Regions from separate parts of the Homo sapiens genome. Here all the other regions are linked to region 3. The links are contacts of gene promoters, found by promoter capture Hi-C in human tissues and cell types (Jung and others, 2019). All regions are on one chromosome and are shown on one strand. Each heading gives the region's core, a stretch centred on a gene start or on the middle of the fragment in contact. The rest is flanking DNA. Distances are from core to core; before and after follow the strand shown. Region 1 holds the start of ARRDC2 (arrestin domain containing 2). Region 2 has its middle 37 kb from the start of COLGALT1. Region 3 holds the start of JAK3 (Janus kinase 3). Region 4 overlaps UNC13A (unc-13 homolog A).

Region 1 (2,700 bases), core at 157-2,656, 160 kb after region 3:
GGGCCTTTGGGGTCCGTCTGCGAAATGAATTGAGGGAGGCGCTGGCTCAGTAGTCCCTTCAGGGTTACCTAATCCCGCTTCTCCTCCCGGACTTAACGGCCTACTGTCTCCCCTCTAGTATCCATTGAAACCTGGCCTAAGGTCCCAGACCTTCCTTTCAACTCCAAAGACCCATCCTCCCAGGCAGCCTTCCAGGCTGATCACTGTGCCTCCAACTCCGTCGTTCCTGTTCCGATCCCCATCACGGGCTGAGGGTGACCGTGTTTGTTTATGACCGCCCCCTCCACCCACACACCTCACTGAGGTGGTGGAAGTCTCCTGAGCCAGGCTCAGAGGCGGACAGTCACGGCAGGGGATGGGTTCAGCGGCAGCGCATTACGCTGCCACGAGAGGGCGCCAGCGTCCCGCAGACGACGCAGAGGCAACTCCCGCTGGAGAAACTCCATGCGACTTTTCTTTGGGGAAACTGAAGCCCAGAGAGAGGTCACGCCGTCCCGTGGCCACACCGCAGCTGTGGACCTGGGGGTGCCCGAGCGTCCCCTGCATTCAGCTCTGTGGCGGGACGGGGGCTGAGGATGACTGGAGCAGGCACAAGGGCTGCGGGGAAGGTAGGGTTTGCCAGAGGCTGAAAATTGGGAAGGGAACATCATTTCGTAGGTACCGCTCCTGGGCGAATGCGCCGAGGCGCGACCGAGTGACGGTATGTCAAGAGCAGGTTGATGACCCGGGAGCGAGGCTCTTGGAGGAGTCCAGCTGGGGCTGCACGATGATCCATGCACAACCTTCTGAGGTCAGGACTGATTTTTACTTTCTCCCGGCTCTACAGAGGTGGAAACTGAGGCTCCAAGAGGTTGTCATTTGCCCAGAGCCACCAGCTAAGCGGGACTTGAATCAGGAAAGGGGTGCAGCAGGCACCAGTGTGGAGGGCGGTCCCACCCACCTCCTCCACTTCTCCCTTTGCATAGCGGGGGAAACAGGCCTGGAACAGTCATAGGCTCTCTGGCCCTCAACTGGGGCGAGAGTCCCCCGCCCCAAATCGGGCTGGACATGCCTCGAGTCACGTCAACGAGGGGCGGCTGGTGAGTGATTAAGCCGAGAGGCTGAAGGCTCTGCTAGGTGACCTCAGGCCTGGGCCCTGCCTCTGCACCTCTTTTTTTCCTCTTTACCCCCGGGGTCCGCGAGAGACCAGCTCTGGCAGCCTAAGGGCTTCAGTTTCTCCCCGGGGTCCGCGAGGGAAGGGGGCAGCCGGCGGTGAGCAGGGGCGTTTGTTATTTTGCTCCACGCCTGGGCAGAGCCACGCCCCTTGTCGCGCTATTGGTGGAGTCCCTTCCCGGGGCGGGGAAGAGACGGTGACCCCACCCCCCCCCGCCCTGCCGTATAAAAGCGGCGCCGACGCACGGCGCGGGGATTTTCTGCTCCGGTTGGTGAGCGCGCCTGCGCGTTGACGGCGATTTTGCGTTCTGAGGCTGCAGCGTCGGCATCTTGAGCTGCCGGTTCGCGAGTTCGAGGCCAGGTTCCGCCTGTCGTGGGTTCGCACCCCGGACGCGATGCTATTCGACAAGGTGAAAGCGTTCTCGGTGCAGTTGGACGGCGCGACCGCGGGCGTCGAGCCCGTGTTTAGCGGCGGCCAGGCCGTGGCGGGCCGGGTGCTGCTGGAGCTGTCAAGCGCCGCGCGTGTGGGTGCCCTGAGGCTGCGCGCGCGGGGCCGCGCCCACGTGCACTGGACCGAGTCGCGCAGCGCGGGCTCGAGCACGGCTTACACGCAGAGCTACAGTGAACGCGTGGAGGTCGTGAGCCACCGCGCCACGCTCCTGGCGCCAGGTACGGATGGAGGACCCCTGCTCCAACACCAGTTGTGTGCCTCCCACCACCTGGACGGCGGTACCTCCGTCAGCCCTGGGACCCCAGCGCAACCGCTCAGTCGCCTCCTTTTTCTCCTACCTGCAGATACCGGGGAGACCACGACGCTGCCTCCTGGGCGCCATGAGTTCCTGTTCAGCTTCCAGCTGCCCCCGTAAGTCCTCTGGGGTGCAGGGTTGCCCTAAGCCTGCAGCCCCTTCCAGATTGGTACCTCCAATACTGGATATCTGGGCACCTCTGAGCCCCAAGACTCTCCCCCTGGGAGGCCCCCGGAGTGTCTGTGTCTCCTTCTCCCTGCCTGCTTGTCTCTGTATCTTGTCCCCTGAAGTCCCGTCCCTCCACCCTAGGACCCTGGTGACATCCTTCGAGGGCAAACACGGTAGTGTCCGCTACTGTATCAAGGCCACCCTGCACCGGCCCTGGGTCCCAGCACGCCGGGCAAGGAAGGTGTTCACTGTCATCGAGCCTGTGGACATCAACACGCCAGCCCTGCTGGTGAGTGGCCACCCTTGGGGAGGTAGGTTGGGAGTATTGTAGGAAGGGGCCTGCCTGGCTGCTGGGCGACACCAACCAATAAGATGGAGGTCATAGGTGGGCCCTGGCAGGGAGGGAGGCAGGTGTGGGAATGCGTGTGGAATCCACTGGGATCTGCACCCATTTGCCGTGTGACTCTGGGCAAGTGTCTTGAAGCCCTCTCTGAGCCTCAGATGCCTCTTCTGTGAAATAGACCAGAGCTAGGGCTTACCAAGTGTGAATTACACACCAAACACTTGGCTTATACATTTCATTTCTGGCTTTATAAGATGGGTTGTGTTCCTGGCTCTATTTAACGGATAGTTC
Region 2 (2,700 bases), core at 145-2,644, 260 kb before region 3:
GAACAGAGGAATGCTAAAACCTCAACTGTTTCCACATCTGGCTGCTGGCAGAGTGAAGGGGAAGGAAAACCAAGACGACTCAAGTCCCTTTTGTTTTCCAGACTCCCAGAGGTGCATCTGGCAGGTGAACTTGGGCAGACACCCTGAGTCTGCCCAGCCACAGGGAGATCTGCCTGTGTAGCTGGGGCTTTGGAATGGGGTGGGACAGGGGCGGATGCTGATGTCAACCTGCCATGGATGGCTTATTAGCGTAGGTTACAATGATGATAGGGACGACGGTGTAACTGTAGGATGCATAATCATCGTCACTATTACATGTAATTGCAGGATTTGGAGCAGAGTAATTATCATGCAATATAATCAATTATATAATGAAATGTAATCTCAGACAGATCATCAACGACATAATTGTGTTATGCCCTCCAGGAAATGGAATATGCCTCTTTTTGAAGTTCCCGGGTGGTTCTGCCAGGATGGCTGGTGGTGGGAGAAGAAGGCAAGAGCCAAATGGGGTTAGGATGAGAGGGACAGTGATTGGGGTGGGGGTGTTTCAGGTGACAGTGGAAGGATAGTGATGGGCGTGAGAATAGTGTGAGAGTTTAGTCTGAGGTTGAGAGAAGTGAGGAGATGCAGGCGAATAAGTTGAAGAACAATGAGGTCAGGTTAGGGATTAGCAAACTGGATGAGGGCCAAATCTGACATCTGACTTTTTTTTTTTTTTGAAACGGAGTTTCACTCTTGTCGCCCAGGCTGGAGTGCAATGGCGCGATCTTGGCTCACTGCAACCTCTGCCTCCCGCATTCAAGCGATTCTCCTGCCTAGCCTCTGGAGTAGCTGGGATTACAGGTGTGTGCCACCATGCCCGGCTAATTTTTGTATTTTTAGTAAAGATGGGGTTTCACCATGTTGTCCAGGCTGGTCTCGAACTCCTGACCTCAGGTGATCCACCCGCCCCGGCCTCTTAAAGTGCTGGGATTACGGGCGTGAGCCACCACTCCTGGCCTCAAATCTGACTTGTTTTAAAAAAAATTTGGCAGGGCTGGGCACCGTGGCTCATGCCTGTAATCCCAGCACTTTGGGACTCACCTGAGGTCAGGAGTTCGAGACCAGCCTGACCAACATGGTGCAACCCTGCCTCTAATAAAAATACAAAAATTAGTCGGGCGTGGTGGCACACACCTGTAATCACAGGTACTCAGGAGGGTGAGGCAGGAGAATCACTTGAACCCAGGAGGCAGAGGTTGTGGTGAGCGGAGATCGTGCCACTGTGCTCCAGCCTGGGCGATAGAGCGAGTCTCCCTCTTAAAACAAGCAAACAAATAAAACAAACAAACAAAACCCCAAAAATTATTTGGCTGAACACGGAATCTGGAAAAAAAAATTTTTAAATTGAGGTAAGAATCAGACAACATAAAATTAACCAGATTAAAATGTCCAATTTGGTGGAATTTAGCACATTTGCAATGTCACACGACCATCACCTTTATCAATTTCCAGAACATTTTCATCCCCCTAAAAGGAGATCTCGTTTCTATCAGCAGTCACTCTCCACTCCCTCTCCCCCAGCCCCTGGCACCACCAATCTGCTTCCTGTCTCTATGTGTTCCCGGAAAGGGGTCCTGATCAAGACCCCAAGAGAGGGTTCTTGGATCTTGTGCAAGAAAGAAGTCAGGGAGGCCGGGCGCGGTGGCTCACGCCTGTAATCCCAGCACTTTGGGAGGCTGAGGTGGGCGGATCACGAGGTCAGGAGATTGAGACCATCCTGGCTAACGCAGTGAAACCCCGTCTCTGCTAAAAATACAAAAAAATTAGCCGGGTGTAGTGGCGGGCACCTGTAGTCCCAGCTACTCGGGAGGCTGAGGCAGGAGAATGGCATGAACCCAGGAGGCAGAGCTTGCAGTGAGCCGAGATTGCGCCACTGAGCTCCAGCCTGGGCAACAGAGCCAGACTCTGTCTCAAAAAAAAAAAAAAAAAAAAAAGAAAGAAGTCAGGGTGAGTCCATAGAGTAAGTGAAAGCAAGTTTATTAGGAAAGTAAAGGAATAAAGAATGGCTACTCCAGGCCAGACACAGTGGCTCACGCCTATAATCCTAGCACTTTGGGAAGCCAAGGTGGGTGGATCACGAGGTCAGGAGACTGAGACCATCCTGGCTAACACGGTGAAACCCTGTCTCTACTGAAAATACAAAAAATTAGCTGGGCATGGTGGTGAGCGCCTGTAGTCCCAGCTACTCGGGAGGCTGAGGCAGGAGAATGGCATGAACCCAGTGTCAGGCCTCTGAGCCCAAGCTAAGCCATCATATCCCCTGTGACCTGCATGTACACATCCAGATGGCCGGTTCCTGCCTTAACTGATGACATTGTCTTGTGAAATTCCTTCTCCTGGCTCATCCTGGCTCAAAAGCTCCCCTACTGAGCACCTTGTGACCCCCACTCTGCCCGCCAGAGAACAACCCCCCTTTGACTGTAATTTTCCTTTATCTACCCAAATCCTATAAAATGGCCCCACCCTTATCTCCCTTCAAGGACTCTCTTTTCAGACTCAGCCCACCTGCACCCAGGTGATTAAAAGCTTTATTGCTCACACAAAGCCTGTTTGGTGGTCTCTTCACACAGACACGCATGAAATTTGGTGCCGTGACTCAGATCGGGGGACCTTCCTTGGGAGATCAATCCCCTGTCCTCCTGTTCTTTGTTCCAT
Region 3 (2,700 bases), core at 86-2,585:
CGATCTTGGCTCACTGTAGCCTCTGCCTCCTGGGTTCAAGCGATTCTCATGCCTCAGCTTCCCAAGTGGCTGGGATTACAGGCGCGCACCACAGCGCCCAGCTAATTTTTGTATTTTTAGTAGAGACGGAGTTTCACCATGTTGGCCAGGCTGGTCTCAAACTCCTGGCCTCAGGTGATTCGCCTGCCTTGGCCTCCCAAAGTGCTGTGATTACACACGTGAGCCACATTGCCCAGCCTTTTTATTTATTTATTTATTTTGTAGGGGGGAGGACGGATTCTTGTTCTGTCTCCCAGGCTGGAGTGCAGTGGCATGATCTCGGCTCACTGCAAACTCCACCTCCCAGGTTCAAGCGATTCTCCTGCCTCAGCCTCCTGAGTAGCTGGAATTACAGGCACCCGCCACCAAACCTGGCTAATTTTTGTGTTTTTAGTAGAGATAGGGTTTCACCATGTTGACCAGGCTGATCTCGAACTCCTGACCTCCAGTGATCCGCTGGCCTCAGCCTCCCAAAGTGTTGGGATTAAAGGCATGAGCCACTGTGCCCAGCCCCAGTCGAGTTTAAAATAAGGCTTCAGTGGCAGTGGCGCCCCACTGCAATCCCAGCTACTCAGGGGGCTGAGGCAGCAGGATAGCTTGAGGCCAGGGGTTAGAGACCTGCCTGAACAACATAGCAAGACTCCCATCTCCAAAACAACAAAAAAATCTTAACAGAATATTATTATTCTGTAATACTGTAACAAAAAAAAATGAAAAGTCAGAGGTGATGTTTGGTCCCAGAAAACGCCATAGTTTTTTTGGTTTTTTAAAAATGTTTGTAGAAATGGAGGTCTGGCTATGTTGCCCAGGCTGGCCTTGAACTCCTGGCCTCAAGCTATCCTCCCGCCTCGGCATCCCCTGTTTATAATCCTCAACGTTCTGCATCCTGGTATGGTCGGGTACCCTGTGTCTGGACCGGGAAGGCCTGGAGGGTAGGGGCTGGGAACTCCGCCCCCCAATCCCTCCTTCCCAATCCCTCCTCCCCACCCCCAACCCCGCAGCCCCCGTCGCGCATGCGCAATGACTCCTCCAGGTCCGCAAGGCAGGCATCTCCCGGCCTTAGTCAAAGCCGAAGCCCAGAGAAGCGAGCGATCGGAGGATGCGAGTCTCGGCTCACGTCTGCCTCGCAGCTTTCCTCCGAGGCCTGGAAGGCGAGCTAGCCTTTGCCCTGGCAGCACCCTGCCCCAGCCCAGCCATCCCCCGCCACCACCATCCTCCCCCAGTGTCTGGGCCGAGCCCTGCGGCATCGCCAGCTCTTACCTAGCGGGCAGGGACCCTGGACTTTCGAAGGGCGGGCAGAGCCGGGAGGCAGCGAGAGGAAAGTCCCACTCGGCTCCTTCCTGTGTGGGCCCCTTGGTTTCCTGAGCCACTGTCATTTACCGAAAGTCAGGGCCCTGCGGGAGCTGGGGGCGGGGAGGCGGGCAAGGAGGGGCAGAAAGTTCCGGAAGCCTCTGCATCAGCCGCCCCGTTCAGACAGGCTGCTGGAGACCCCTAAGCCAAAGGAACTGATGATAGCACAGAGAAGGGTCTGGGTCACACCAGGGGCTCAGCCGACTCTAGACCCACTTGTTAAGTGGGGCTCTGGCCCGGCCCTTATTGCCTCAGTTTACCCATCTGTAGCATGTGTGAGTTGGGCACCCAGTGGAACTAATTTTGCACCCAGGGAAGGAAACCTGGCTGGATTTGCCCAGGAGGGAAGCAGGGAAGTTGCCCCAGAGGAAGGTCAAGTTCTTCTTTGAGGTATTTCTCCCTTAAGACTCAGGGAGACGCTGGGCGCAGTGGCTCACGCCTGTCATCCCAGCACTTTGGGAGACTGAGGCGGGCGATTACTTGAGGTCAGGAGTTTGAGACCAGCCTAGCCAACATGGCGAAACTCCGTCTCTACTAAAAATACAAAAATTAGCCAGGCGTGGTGGCCTGTAATCGCAGCACTTTGGGAGGCTGAGGCGGGCGGATCACTTGAAGTCAGGAGTTTGAGACCAGCCTGGCCAACATGATGAAACCCTGTCTCTACTAAAAACAGGAAAATTAGCCAGGCCTGGTGATGCCTGTAATCCTAGCTACTCAGGAGGCTGAGGTGGGAGGATTGCTTGAATCTAGGAGGCGGATGTTACAGTGAGACGAGATGGCGCCACTGCACTCCAGCCTGGCAACAGAGCGGGACTTCGTTTAAAAAAAAAAGAAAAGACTCAGGGAGAGATAATGACCCATTTCTGCCTGTGGTGCCCTGGGCCCAGCCCTAAAAAACCAGGTGGATCCGGCCTGGCCTCTTGGAACTTGTGATCTGGCGCTGAGACAATGAGCAAATGAAGGAGCCAAATCATCGCAGACAACAAAGAAAGCCAGGGTGTCAGGACAGGCACAGACTGGAACTTGGACCCGAGGCAGGACAGGGAGCTGGCCAGGGAAAGGGTGCTCCAGGAGGAGGGCACAGGATGGGCAAAGACCTTGAGAGGGCAGTGATCTTAGCAGCTTGAAGAGCAGTCAGGAGGCCAGGGGCAGGGGTGAGATGAGGGGGAAGGGGACTGCAGGGCGGTCAACAGGGGCAAGATCGTGGGGGGACAGGGGGATCAGGGTCTTTGGGAGAAGGGTGGGTTTTGCCTGGAGCATAATCTGGAGCCACAGGAGAGTTGGAAGTAGGAGCTGTTATAAATAGAAGAG
Region 4 (2,853 bases), core at 304-2,803, 190 kb before region 3:
GGCTGGGAGTCAGATGGCCTGGGTCCTAGTCCTGGCTGAGTGATTTTAGGAAGCTCCGTGGCTATCTCTGGGCCTTAGTTTGTCCATCTGTAAGATGGGCTGGGGGAGAAAGAAGCTCTTCTCTTTCAACCACCTCAATGGACCTCAGTCTCTTCATTGATTATTCCCTAAACCCCCTATAGTCTCACTTGTTCATCTGCTCTCTTGCCTCGGGCTCTTTCCAGGAGTTGTGACTTCAGCTTGTACCTCTTCCCACCTTCTGCAGCCAACCAGCCTCTATTTATCATTCGGGTCTCAGCATAGACGTGGGGTCCACAGCCCCTACCTTCCCTCCATCTTGTAACTAAAGGGTTAACATGGGGGGAGGGGTGGCCCTATGAGGAACACAGGCAGCACTCTTCTGTTCTGAAATATTGAGGGGGTGTTTGGTTTTTTTTTAAAGACAGGGTCTTGCTATATTGCCCAGACTGGTCTTGAACTCCTGGCCTCATGTGATCTTCCTGCTTCAGCCTCCTGAGTAGCTGGGACCACACACACAAGCCACCACACTCAGCTCCTGAAATAAATATATATATATATATTTTGTTTGTTTGTTTGTTTGAGACGGAGTTTCCCTTTTGTTGCCCAGGCTGGAGTGCAGTGGCGCAATCTCAGCTCACTGCAACCTCCACCTCCTGGGTTCAAGCGATTCTCCTGCCTCAGCCTTCCTAGTAGCTGGGATTACAGGTGCCCACCACCACACCCAATTAATTTTTTGTATTTTTAGTAGAGGTGGGGTTTCACTATGTTGGCCAGGCTGGTCTCGAACTCCTGACCTCAGGTGATCCACCCACCTCTGCCTCCCAAAGTGCTGGGATTACAGGCGTGAGCCACTGCATCCGGCTCTGAAATATTTTTTATTTTTTTCTTTTAGAGATGAGGTCTCACTACGTTGCCCAGGCTGGTCTCAAACTCCTGAGTGCAAGTGAGCCTCCCGCCTCGACCTCCCAAATTGCTGGGATTACAGGCATGAGCTCCTGAAATATTGTTGAAATAAATATTTTGGATATCACTTCTCTTTTTTTTTTTTTTTTTTTTTTTGAAATGGAGTCTCGCTCTGTCACCCAGGCTGGTGTGCAGTGGCGCGATCTCGGCTCACTGCCAGCTCCGCTTCCCGGGTTCACGCCATTCTCCTGCCTCAGCCTCCCGAGTAGCTGGGACTACAGGCGCCTGCAACCACAGCCGGCTAATTTTTTTGTACTTTCACTAGAGACGGGGTTTCACCATGTTAGCCAGGATGGTCTCGATCTCCTGACCTCGTGATCCACCCACCTCGGCCTCCCAAAGTGCTGGGATTACAGGCTTGAGCAACCACGCCCGGCCATCACTTCTCCTTAAGTGTCATCTCCTCCAGGGAGTTTTCCTGATTGCCTTGGATTAGTTTTATGCTTTTCCTATGAAACCCAGAGAGCCTTCCATGTGTCTTTTTCTTGTCATATTACTAGTTCCATAGTTTGTTTTTCTTGTATATCACATAGTTCCAATAGTAGCTGCTATTTTTTCAATTTAATTTCTTGACCTAGTGGAAGTTATCCAACAGCCTTTTCACTGTGTCCTCTTCCACCTGTCTCATTTAGAACCATATGTATGTACTGCTGAGTCAAAAAATAGATTTCTATTTTAAAACTGTTAAGAAATTTCGTTTGGTAATTTTGTGGCTCTGATATTTGATGGTCTAAACCTTTGGGAGTCTGTTTAGAATCTCCTCCTGCCAATCCCACTGCAGTTTGGAGGGTAACTCTGAAGAGCAACACAGCTGTCCCCAGCCCAGGGTGAGCTGAATGAAGGAATAAACGAATGGCCTCAACCCTGCTGCCCATCTAAACAGTCAGCTTGCCCCTGATGCTGATTGCTTCCCTTGATTCCTACTCCCCTACTGAGCCGGCCCCAGACCTTTCCCTAACCCTGACAATGACCTCCAATTTGGCCCTAAGCACTGACCCCTTTGCCTAACACCAATTCTAACCCTGACCTCTGATCTTTGATGGCTGAACTAACCCTGACCTTGATCCCTAACCATGACTTCAGCCCAGTTTCAGCCCTAGTTTTCTCTCCTCCCTCTAGATCTAGAAACCCCAGGCTGACATTGGGAAGGAGGCTGGGCTGGGGATGTGTGGGGCCAGACTTGGTGCATGGTTTGGGAGTTAGCATAGCCAGGCTGGTGTGGACGGGCCATGGGGATACCCTGGGCTGTGTGTGTATGTGGCTAAGGAAGGGTCAGAGTGGGTGGGGCATCGGTGACATTGGGTGAGGCCAGGCTGAATGAGGGTGGGGCCAGGGAAGGGCTCGAGTGGCTGGGGCATGGGCACAGTGTGGGCACTGCACTGGGCATGCCCAGGCTAGGCTTGGGTACGGGTGGGGTGTTGGGCGTGGCCAATATAGGTGTGGGTGTGGCCAAAACATGTGTGGGCCTGCCATTGGGCGTGGCCTGGCTAAGTGTGGCAGGGGCATGGCTGGGCGTGTCACTCACCTCCTGCAGCTGCATCCGCACCTTGTTGAAGGCACGCAGCCAGTTGGCCTTGGCCCTGGACATGGAGTCCTGCCCCTCCTGGCCTTCCTCATCCTCTCTCGGCCTGAAACTGAGGCAGGGAACGCTATGAGGCTCTGGGCTGGCTCTCCGTGACCCCTGAACTTCCCTTGACCCTCCAGCTGTGCAAGTGATGCATAGCTCCCCATGGTATCTCTGACCCCTCAGAGACATTAGGACCCACGTGAGTCCCCTGGCCCACCTCAGTGCCCCTCACCCCTTCCCACACACCCAATGCTTCTGTGACACTTCACTGTTCCTCGGCTTCCTTTTCACCAGCCCAGCCC

Evidence for each region. Contacts are between HindIII fragments. The study calls those that stand out against the background at their distance.
Region 1: a contact is called between the fragment with the promoter of ARRDC2 here and the fragment with the promoter of JAK3 in region 3, in 2 of the 25 tissues and cell types used here (IMR-90 fibroblasts and lymphoblastoid cells).
Region 2: a fragment that was not itself captured here is called in contact with the fragment with the promoter of JAK3 in region 3 in 1 of the 25 tissues and cell types used here (aorta).
Region 4: a contact is called between a fragment that was not itself captured here and the fragment with the promoter of JAK3 in region 3, in 1 of the 25 tissues and cell types used here (IMR-90 fibroblasts).

Annotation. Positions count from the first base shown.
Region 1 is chr19:18,006,764-18,009,463 of GRCh38, forward strand. ARRDC2 (arrestin domain containing 2) reads left to right here and starts at 1,407. Exons shown (of 8, transcript NM_015683.2): 1 at 1,407-1,821; 2 at 1,948-2,014; 3 at 2,208-2,355. The coding sequence starts at 1,548. RefSeq lists an enhancer at 1,461-1,680. The HindIII fragment of the contact is 21,109 bases long and covers 1-2,592 here.
Region 2 is chr19:17,591,299-17,593,998 of GRCh38, forward strand. No RefSeq gene overlaps it. Among named protein-coding and RNA genes, the nearest start is that of COLGALT1, 37 kb to the left of the region's middle. The HindIII fragment of the contact is 4,571 bases long and covers 1-2,700 here.
Region 3 is chr19:17,846,647-17,849,346 of GRCh38, forward strand. JAK3 (Janus kinase 3) reads right to left here and starts at 1,336. Exons shown (of 24, transcript NM_000215.4): 1 at 1,300-1,336. The HindIII fragment of the contact is 13,300 bases long and covers 1-2,700 here.
Region 4 is chr19:17,652,765-17,655,617 of GRCh38, forward strand. It overlaps UNC13A (unc-13 homolog A), which reads right to left. Exons shown (of 44, transcript NM_001080421.3): 11 at 2,510-2,618. Among named protein-coding and RNA genes, the nearest start is that of UNC13A, 34 kb to the right of the region's middle. The HindIII fragment of the contact is 6,355 bases long and covers 1-2,853 here.